3 separate regions of the Homo sapiens genome follow, and regions 2 and 3 are each linked to region 1. The links are contacts of gene promoters, found by promoter capture Hi-C in blood cells and fetal thymus (Javierre and others, 2016). All regions are on one chromosome and are shown on one strand. The core of a region is centred on a gene start or on the middle of the fragment in contact, and the rest is flanking DNA. Distances in the headings are between cores, read along the strand shown. Region 1 holds the start of ADGB (androglobin). Region 2 overlaps GRM1 (glutamate metabotropic receptor 1). Region 3 overlaps GRM1 (glutamate metabotropic receptor 1).

Region 1 (3,346 bases), core at 677-3,176:
CCCTTACTTTATCCTAATTTAATAGATGTTTAAAAAGCAAGCTCTGAGTGGAGTAGTGATATGTTTGGCTTAAACTGGCAATGCTGACTTTAATGTGTTTAGTCCAAATTCCATCAATAAATAACCCAGCAACTTTTGGCAAGACATTTTGCTTGTCTTCGCCTGGAGTTATTTGTCCATAAAATACCGGTGGGATGTAGATCTTTTGATTTCTAAGGCTTATCTTCCCTAATTCTTTTGGCATCTTGCAGCCATTAACAATGGCTGCAGGATAGCCCTTGTTCAAGAAGAAACTCACCTCTCTGTGGGGTTGGCTGCTTAAAGTTGTGCTGTTTTCAGCCAAGAGTCTTTGTATATACTTATAGCTATAAATTTGATTACTCTGACAAAATTTGGTAGTAAATAATTTTTCTCACCATTTAGTCCTCTACTTTCATTCAAGAGAGTTCTCTGGAAATTTGAATTATGGTATAAACAAAGCAGAATCTTCATGATGTGTTCATTGTCTTTACATATATAGGAGATGTTTGCAGGGCAGTCTTGTAGTCATAATATTAACACTGCTGACTTGGAATTTATTTATTTTGCATATAGAAATACAACGAAGGGGCTGTCTGTCATCTAGGTAACCCCCAGTAGTAATCCAATAGTAATAAGATTGGGATAGTCTGACAAACCATAGGCTATGCTGAGTGGAGAGCCCTGAGCATTCATTTGTCAGAGAAGTTGAAAGATTTTCTCTGCAGGAAGCTGCCTCTTGCCTGCACAGGTGGAACTGTGAGCATGTGCCCAGTCCCATGAGTGGAGGGGATTTCTTTTATTTAAAGATACTTAACTATTTCTAGGCTCATGAAAGACACCAACCAGTAGTAGTGGTCCTAGGCCTAAGGGCTGTGTGTCAGATATCTCTGAAGTGAGGTTATATTGAACCAACACAATATTTTGTTTTGTTTTGATAAATTTGCAAGCTCTTGCAGTCTAAGCATGTCTCAGTTAAGCATAGTATCCACTACTCTGTATTTACCTGGCCAACTTCATTCATTCACGCTGTCTGCTGCTCCTCGAAACCAGGTGGTCTGTCATCTCTGAAAGAGTGGCTCCTATTTGCTGCGCTTTGCATCTTATCCTCAAAACAGAACTGTGAGTTAGGTATAACTCCTATTTATAAGTGAGTAATAGGCATCTCCTATTTATAAGTGAGTAAACTGAGACTCAAAGGGAAAAACTAGCCCAAGGCAAGATAACTAACAAATCACCACTGATGACTGAGCCTTAAGCCTGCGCCCTAATAAGTTTCATTTTACTTGGTTCTGTCTGTGTCATCTGGCCCCTGGACCTTTTCTGGAAAGTCTGCAAAGGACCACCTGAGCCCATGACTTGGACTCACTCTTTCATTCGAACAACAAGACACCTTATTGGTTTTATTACAGATATCATCACCTAGCCCTCAGCGACTCAAGGTGTCATTATTTTGCCTTCCTTACACCCACTGTGTTAATTTCTGGACCCCAGGTTTTCAAGCCATTGACAATTTCAGCGTGTCTGTAATGTCTCCTTAGTAATTATTGAAGGTACTTGTTATATTTAGCCAAGAGAATAACTGGGGTGGTACTAGGATAACATCTACGTTCAAATAGTTGGATATTCAAGAGTCGATATATGTCTATGGTTCCGAAGGGCAAAGCCAGGCAGTGTAGGTCCTGCAGAACTCCAATTAATCAGGGCTGCCCAGTAATCCTAATGCCAAACCCGTGCCCCAGAACCTCGATTTCTCCCCAGACACCAACTCCAAGTTCCTCCACGGGGATGTGGGATTTCAGTTTATGCTCTTGCGTCCCTCTGCAGCCACAGGCCGCAGAGCCCGCCCCCAGGGCCCCGCCCCCGCTCTCCGGGCGCTGGACGCGGGACGCCGTCTCCTGGCAACGCAGACGCGGAGCCGAGCGCGCCCGCAGGCTCTTTGCTCAGAGCTCAGCCCTACATAGATCGGCTTCTGCCATGGCCTCCAAACAAACCAAAAAGAAAGAGGTGCATCGTATCAACTCGGCGCACGGATCGGATAAATCGAAAGAGTAAGGGACCTCTGCCTGTCCGTCCCTCCCCTGGCCTAGCCCCTCGACCTCACCACTAGTTCTGGGGCTGCCTCCCTGCAGCAAACTGTGCCAGGGCAGAAGTTTAGTGGCCTCCTCGCAGCTTGTCTTCTCTGGTAAACCAGATCCTGGAGGTGCTCGCTCTCATCCTTCTCTCTTGCTTGTCTTGACTCACTTCCTTTCCCAGAGCCCCTGATTTTCTTGCTTTGGGTGTTCAGCTCCCATGGGTGAATCTGCCACCCCTCCTCTTCTTCATAGCCCTCTCAGGCAGTTAGAAAGGCCATAGCTTTCCTAAGAAAGAGGCATATCTCAAATACTTCTGGTTAAAGCCACATCTTCATGGCCCCGGAAATGATACAGACAGCGAGTGACAGACAGACATGGACACATTTCACCTTAATGGTGATTTTCTAGTTTGCATCTGCCCAGTCCAACGACTACGATCTTTAATCAGATATAGTCAGACGTAAAGTGGCTTCTAAACCTTAAAACATTATAAATGTATAGTTCATGTTACTAACATTTACTCTGAGAAAGTAAACAGACCCTCGCTCATGGAATTTTTATGGTGCCTTTGTCCTGGGCTGGTGTTAGGTGTTGTGTCTTAGGATGTACTTCCCCATGATTATTATTTTCTGTGGTCTGTTTCCCTAGGGATATCCAGTTATCCACAGCATAGGATTGGGGCTGTTTGAACTTACACCATTTCTAATGTTCATTCCCACTGTGAGAGAATCCCAGCTGCCCGCCCTGCTTCAGTGGGATCATTCATGTTCTTCATGCTCTGCCTGATGGGGAGGGCGATGCAATCAATCATTTCAAATTGAATTCTTACATCCTTGATGCCTGTTTCTCCATTTCCTTCCCTGGCTGAAGAATTCCACATTGGACTGATCCCTATGATTCACTGATCCCTAGGATTTAAACTCTTTTTCTTTGTGAATTCTTCTCCCAGACTCATTCCCATGTCTGTGAATCTCTAGTCCCTTAGTTCTAACCTCTCTCATAAGCAGGTTTCCAGTTACCCGGCAGATAATCCATTCCTTTTACTAGCTTAAATTTTAGATATTACATATATAAGTAATATTACATATATAATTTTATATAAATATTACATATGTAATTTTAATAGGATTGCTTTACTTCTGTGTACCAAAGTCAGGTCTTTTCAGCGTTGTCTAATGGCTTCCATTCCTCTAGGTCCAAGGCCGAGGACGCCCTTCAGAATCAGGCCTGTATTACTTCTCTAAAGTTACCTT
Region 2 (3,234 bases), core at 698-3,197, 260 kb before region 1:
TGTTCCCCTTTTCTCTTTCTTTGCCCACCCACTTGATTTCCATCAATAACTTCTTCCTACTCCAAGTCCTAGAACATCATTTTTAATCTTTAAAGTTCAAGACACTTTCCCAGGGCCCCCAAAATGGTAATTTTTTTAATGTGTAGGTCTATGATGAGCCCGGAAATCTCCATTTTAACAGATACATTAAAAGAGTACAATGCTTATAATTTTTTAAATACCTCATGACATGGTTTGGCTGTGTCCCCACCCAAATTTCATCCTGAATTGTAGCTCCCATAATCCCCACGTGTCCAGGAAGAGACCTGGTGGGAGGTAATTGAATCATGGGGGCAGATTTTTCCCATATTGTTCTGGTGATAGTGAACAAGCCTCAAGAGATCTGATGGTTTTACAGAGGGCAGTTCCCCTGCACATGATCTCCTGCCTGTGTCCATGTAAGATGTGCCTTTGCTCCTCCTTCACCTTCTGCCTTGATTGTAAGGCCTCCTCAGCCATGTGGAACTGTAAATCCATTAAACCTCTTTTTCTTTATAAATTACCCAGTCTTGGGTATGTCTCTATAGGAGCTTAAGAATGGACTAATACACCTCACAATCAGTTTGGATGTGGAGTGGGAGAGTTGGAAAGAGTGTTAGTATCTTGAGCCTGAGCATTATGGTGTAGTAGAATCTAGGCCATCCATTCTTTCTTAAATTGAGTTCTCAAGAAGCAGAGCCAGAGGCAGAGATTCCTTTGCTAATGATTTGTTGAGGCGTGCTGTCAAGAGGAGAGGAAGTAAGCTAAGACTGGGGAGTAAGTTAAGTAATGTCTCAGCTGGAGAGAAGCTGCAATCTGATTCCAGGAAATCCTCTGAAACACAGATTGACTGAGAGTTAGCAAGGGGTCCAGGCTTTTGAACTCCACTATCCATCATTGGTTGAGTTCTGGCATACAGCAAACGATGGGGGAACAGAGTCTTCCTGATGAGGCATTTCCTGTTCGCCTGAGAGCAATTCCTCACAGAAGATGGCAGCTGTGGGTTGATTTTAGCAACACTCCATCAGCTGTGCTGTGAGTGTTCTAGTTGAAAAGGTGGTCTAGGCTGGTCACCAAAAGTATTGGCTACATCTCTCCACTCAACAAGAGTTACCTTTGCTCCTCGCCTTGACCTCCTGGCTTTTCCCTTTCTCCAGTATTGGCAACTCTTCTGATTTGATGCCAAGACACAGTCCCATCTTGAACCCAGTTCCAGTACCCGACTCTGTATATTTTTGTGCCTGAGTCCCTGTCTTGGTAGCTTCTATGATACCACAACTAATTAAAAACTTGTTCTGAATAATGCTTTTCCTAAAGAGTGATGTCCTGCCCTGGGGCCTGCCATTGAAAGGTTGCCCACTCTGGGTACCCTCAGGTGTTTGTGTCTGCATGACTCTTCCTTTACTTCCTGTTTCCAAGGTCCCAACCTGGTTTTTCGCTTTCTTGCTGAACTTATTTGCCTGTCCCTCTTCCTGGTTTCAGGAAGGGCTTCCACACCACAGAACTCCAAGGGCACCATTATCATCATGTTTTCTGTGGATGGTGATGGTGACCTCTGGAGATGTGGAGATGTGCGGTACAGCAGTCCAGGCAGTACTCCTTGGGCAAGTGTCTGCCTCAGGACTACACTTCTGAAGCAGAACCTGGCAGCCCACTGCCCAGACCCAGCCTCTCCCAGTCTCTCTCATGTCCCAGGTTCTGCCTGGTGATAATCCATATAAATTCAGGAATGCTTTTACTTCTCTGTGCCTGTTTCTTTGTAATACTTTTCCACTTTTAATTTTTTAAAAAATTGGAAAATCACAAGAGGCTATCAAATGCTTTTACATATTTGGCCAACTAATAATGAAATTAAATGTTTCAATCAAATCACTTGGGGGATATATTCCTAAAACGTTCTTTGGACAGAGTAAACAAAGGAACTAAACTATATATGGAAAGTAAGGGATAGGGATATTAAGCCAGCTTCCTAGTCTCTGGGATTGCTGCCTGCACACGACTTGGCCTTCTCATGAAATTCAGGGTCTGTGTGCTGTGGCAGAAATTCAAAAAGCGCTGCTTCCAGCTTCTTCCCTGCCAGGAAATCTCTCTTCTAAAGATACAGCACAATGATGTACTTGGTGAATCAGACTCAAATTTTGTGTTTATTTACAGGAAATTAACAAAAGTGAAAAAATTATAACGACTTGAAAATACTATAATAAATGTTATCATTATAATTTTAAAATAATGAGGCCACAAACAGGAATACACAATTCCCCCAAAAGAAAATGATTTACTTCCCCTAGTAACTAAAGAAAACAAAAAGAATAATTTTGCACTTGTCAAACTGGCATATATTATACAAAATGATAGTATCTACTGCTGGTCAGGATGTGGTAAAATGGGTGCTCAGATATGCAGCTGATGGTAAAATACATGCTATGATTTTTCCTGGGGGGAAATTTTCCAATATGGATCAAGAGTCTAAAGAAACGTCTTAATCGAACAATTTTACTGCAAATGATTCATACCAAGGAAATGATCACGTTATGCAATGCTAGAAATATTTGTGTGCAAACAGGAAAAATAAAAACTTCCTATATTCCTAATCTCCAACAGGTCAAATATTAGATAAATGCTAATATATTTTTACCACGAATTATAATGGCTCCATTTTACTGGGCTATGGCAGGTATGCTATGAATCGGCTTTTTCAATGGTGATATAATCCAGGCTCAAAGGTTCCTAAGACTGGCATGGAAAAGACAGAGCAGGGTTGAAGTTACTTGCATCTAACAAGCTCAGCCCCAACAAGTCCTCTATGTGGTCTATCTTATCCCGTTTGAATTCTGAATTTGGTTTGGGGCCCAAGCCCCAGCTAAAAAGAGAGTGTTAACTTTGCTTTCTTTGCCTCCACAGTTCACACATCCTTCTCAGGGCCTCTTGCATGTCTATGGCTTAGAGTAGGACTCATGAGCTTATGTATGTTTAAAATAGTCACTGTGGACTGAACACCATCTAGCAGATAAGGCCTTCAAAGAAATGATAGTCCACTGAGCCTGTCTATGCTAAACGTCTATAGGAGCTCCCTTTGACTTATTGCTTCAAATCTAAAGCCCTCTGATTTGTTAAAGTTCAATAAATATCTGTTATTATTCCCTGGCTTCCTGCAGTGGAATGTTATGGGGGTACAAGTTATAGAAGCCCAGAGTAGCTCTTTATTAACCAAGTTCA
Region 3 (3,239 bases), core at 372-2,871, 290 kb before region 1:
GGCATGACATAGATCATTTCATAAAAATTATATATTTTGTAATTGTAAGTTTAACTTAACTACATCCCAGGATGTGGAAACTAGAAAAAACAAGACAACAATCTTTAATCAATCACCCTTACATAGTTAGTGCCAATATAGATATTTTCTCTTATATTTTCCCATGCAGTCTTTTATAATTTTTTTCTGATGATGAAAGTAATACGTGCTTAATATGCTATTGCATGCACTTGGAAATATACAGAAGCATTAGAAAGCTGAAGAGAATTAAGAATTTGCTCTTATCTAAACATCATTAGTCACTGTTAAAATTTTGGCATGTTTTCATCTTTCTCTATATAGTTTTAAATTATGTATTAATATTATTTTATATATTGCTGTATTAAAAGAAATGTTTTATACATTGATACATTTGTCTTTGTCGTTAAATTCTTTTATTCTTAATGGCTGCTTAACATTTTGCATTCACATAAGCTATAATTTAGGCATTTCATTCTTTCTATTTAGGCTGTTTTTGCTTATTCACAATTTTCAAAAATGTTGCAGTGATATAATAAAAAAATTTTCATTCTAAACTTTCTTTTTTTACATTTGGATAATTTTCTTAAGTTGTATTTCTAGAAGTTAAATTTCTAGAAGTTTAATCAAGAGATATAAACATTTCTGGCTGGGCATGGTGGCTCATGCCTGTAATCTCAGTGCTTTGGGAGGCTAAGGTGGGCAGATGGCTTGAGGTCAGGAGTTCGAGACCAGCCTGGCCAACATGGTGAAGCCCCATCTCTACTAAAAATACAAAAATTAGTTGGGCTTGGTGGCGGGTGCCTATAATCCTAGCTACTCGGGAGGCTGAGGCAGGAGAATCGCTTGAGCCTGGGAGGCAGAGGTTGCAGTGAGCCGAGATCGCGCCACTGCACTCTAGCCTGAGTGACAGAGCGAGACTCTGTCTCAAAAAAAAAAAAACAGAACATTTTTAAGCTTTTGAAAAGGAGTTCCAAAAGGCAGCTCCTACTAACGCTGCTTGAAACTCTATGCATTCTTTTCATTTTATTTTGCATAATTATCATCACAGTGTGCATACAATTCTCTATCTTATTTCACTCAGGATTATATTTTACATAGTTTTGATGTTGCTTCATGGTCTTTATAACCACCATTTTAAAAGCTCCATAATATTCTAACCAGTTAAAATACTATAACTACTGGCCATTCTTATGTTGTCAGTCATTTAGACGACTTTTAATTTTCCTTCTTACATAAAAAAAAAAGCACTGAATATGATACACAGATTTTTCACAGTTGTTGTTACTGTTTTGGGATTGTTCCTTTACAGTAGATTCCTAAATATAATTATTAGTAATAACTTGATAAATTTGGGGTCCCTTAAAAATATAAACTGCATTTTCTTGCAATATGGCAATATTTGCATACTTAATATTTGCTCCGGCTAGCAGTATATTAACTGTATGAGTTCATGGGGTTTATTCTGTCCTTATCAGCCTTTTTCACACCTCAGTGAAGTTATAGCCATTATTTTATTTTCTCTCCATATTCTTTGTACCAATTGAGAACAGATGGACACAATGACTTTTAAAATTAGTCTATATTACATTTGGCTATTTTAGAAGACATAATGAAAGAATCTGGCTGGTATCTAATTCTCACCAACAGCTCAGGACTGGTAAGATGATGATAGCTAGTCTAGTGAAAACATTTTAAGACTTTGAAGCAAGGGGACTCTTACTCCAATAGTTTGGAGGCTGCCATTCACAATTTTAGACTGATACTAATTTTCATAATATATTTGCCTTATTAGGTTTCAAATTTTATGGACTCCACTTGGAATTAACTTATTTTATAAGGCCAGATAAGATCAGTCCATTAGAGTTTGATCCAGATTAAGATGTTCCATAAACTGAGATGGGTTCCAGTTTACTTCAGCCCATTAGGTCCTTTGGTAATAACTTCTCTTTATCTTGGGAAGTTTGACCCAAATGTCAATATGCACTCCTGAAGAATATCATTTGCTTTCAACCCAGAAGTTGGTATTATTAGTTGGGGTTTGTGGAAGACATTACATTTCTTCACCCCTTTTTGTATCCATGCTCTTTGAAATATGGCTTTGTAGCATCTCTCCTCGAGAGGTAGAGTTTTGTTCCCTACCTGTTGAATCTGAATTGACCTTACCATTTATTAACTCTAAGTTTAGGCCTTAAGAGACTTGACCTACTCTCATTTTCTTTCCTGGAACCTTACCTTAGCCATATGAATAAGCTTGAATTTATCTGGTAGAAGATGAGAAATAACATGGATCAGAAACAGGATGACCTCTCAGTTGAGAATGTCCTAGATCAGCCAGTCCCTGGCCAACCCACCACCTGACAGTTGACGCCTGAGTGAGCCAAGCTGAGATGAGTTATGTCCAACTCAGAGCAGCAGAACTTCCTAGTTGACTCCTAGATTCATGAACTAAATAAATTATTATTGTTTTAAACCACTAAGCCCTGGGATGGTTTGTTATGCGGCTTTTTTGGGGCAATTGATAACTGATAAAGGTATTCATAGCTTTGTAATCCATGGAGCAATAGTTGGTTTAATTAAATTATGGGACATAATTCCTCAACCCAATAGTAGAATGCTCAGTCTTTTCCCATCATAAGAAGAATGGTGCAATATTGCACCCAGGATCTCGTCGAGCAAAGCCAAAAAGTTTTATAGATCCTGCAATCAAAAGAATTTTAAAGCCCCCTTGATCCTAGGCAGTTAAACTATTCCACTTAGGAAATCTGCTGTGCATACAGGAAGTGCTGAAAAAATGAGGTACAGTTATAGCTTAGTCAAACAAATACTCTCAAAATAAAACAGTCATATGTTCTCATACAGTGCTGTTATAAGTTGCTTTATGGGAATAGGTTTTACAAGTCTTAGAAGTGTTTATATATCTTAGTTGGAAGAATGAAAGTGAACTGACTGTGTGTCTCATCTGGACCTTATAATTTCTCAGACAAATCTGATTATCACACAGATGAAGCTCTGAGAGTAACTATTCAATAGGCACAATATTGGCCTACCTATCTCTTATTAACACTTTTGATTGGCACTGCCAAATGTGTTAGCCACTAGCCACATGTGTCTATTTGTATTTAAATTTAAATCAGTGAAAATCACGTGAAATGAAACCTTCAGTTCCTCAGTTTCACTAGCCACAGTTCATGTATCAATACAGGTACTAGAATATACAT

Evidence for each region. The method cuts DNA at HindIII sites, captures the fragments that hold promoters and counts their contacts. A CHiCAGO score of 5 or more calls a contact.
Region 2: a fragment that was not itself captured here is called in contact with the fragment with the promoter of ADGB in region 1 in 1 of 17 cell types (M0 macrophages); the score reaches 5.5 in M0 macrophages.
Region 3: a contact is called between a fragment that was not itself captured here and the fragment with the promoter of ADGB in region 1, in 1 of 17 cell types (M0 macrophages). The highest score is 7.3, in M0 macrophages.

Annotation. Positions count from the first base shown.
Region 1 is chr6:146,597,046-146,600,391 of GRCh38, forward strand. ADGB (androglobin) reads left to right here and starts at 1,927. Exons shown (of 36, transcript NM_024694.4): 1 at 1,927-2,069. The coding sequence starts at 1,996. ADGB-DT (ADGB divergent transcript) reads right to left here and starts at 1,886. Exons shown (of 3, transcript NR_125860.1): 1 at 1,788-1,886; 2 at 1,025-1,126. RefSeq lists a silencer at 1,728-2,022. The HindIII fragment of the contact is 3,644 bases long and covers 1-3,346 here.
Region 2 is chr6:146,335,549-146,338,782 of GRCh38, forward strand. The region is part of intron 3 of GRM1 (glutamate metabotropic receptor 1); the gene reads left to right. Among named protein-coding and RNA genes, the nearest start is that of RAB32, 210 kb to the right of the region's middle. The HindIII fragment of the contact is 5,315 bases long and covers 1-3,234 here.
Region 3 is chr6:146,308,452-146,311,690 of GRCh38, forward strand. All of the region lies in intron 3 of GRM1 (glutamate metabotropic receptor 1), which reads left to right. Among named protein-coding and RNA genes, the nearest start is that of RAB32, 230 kb to the right of the region's middle. The HindIII fragment of the contact is 1,296 bases long and covers 974-2,269 here.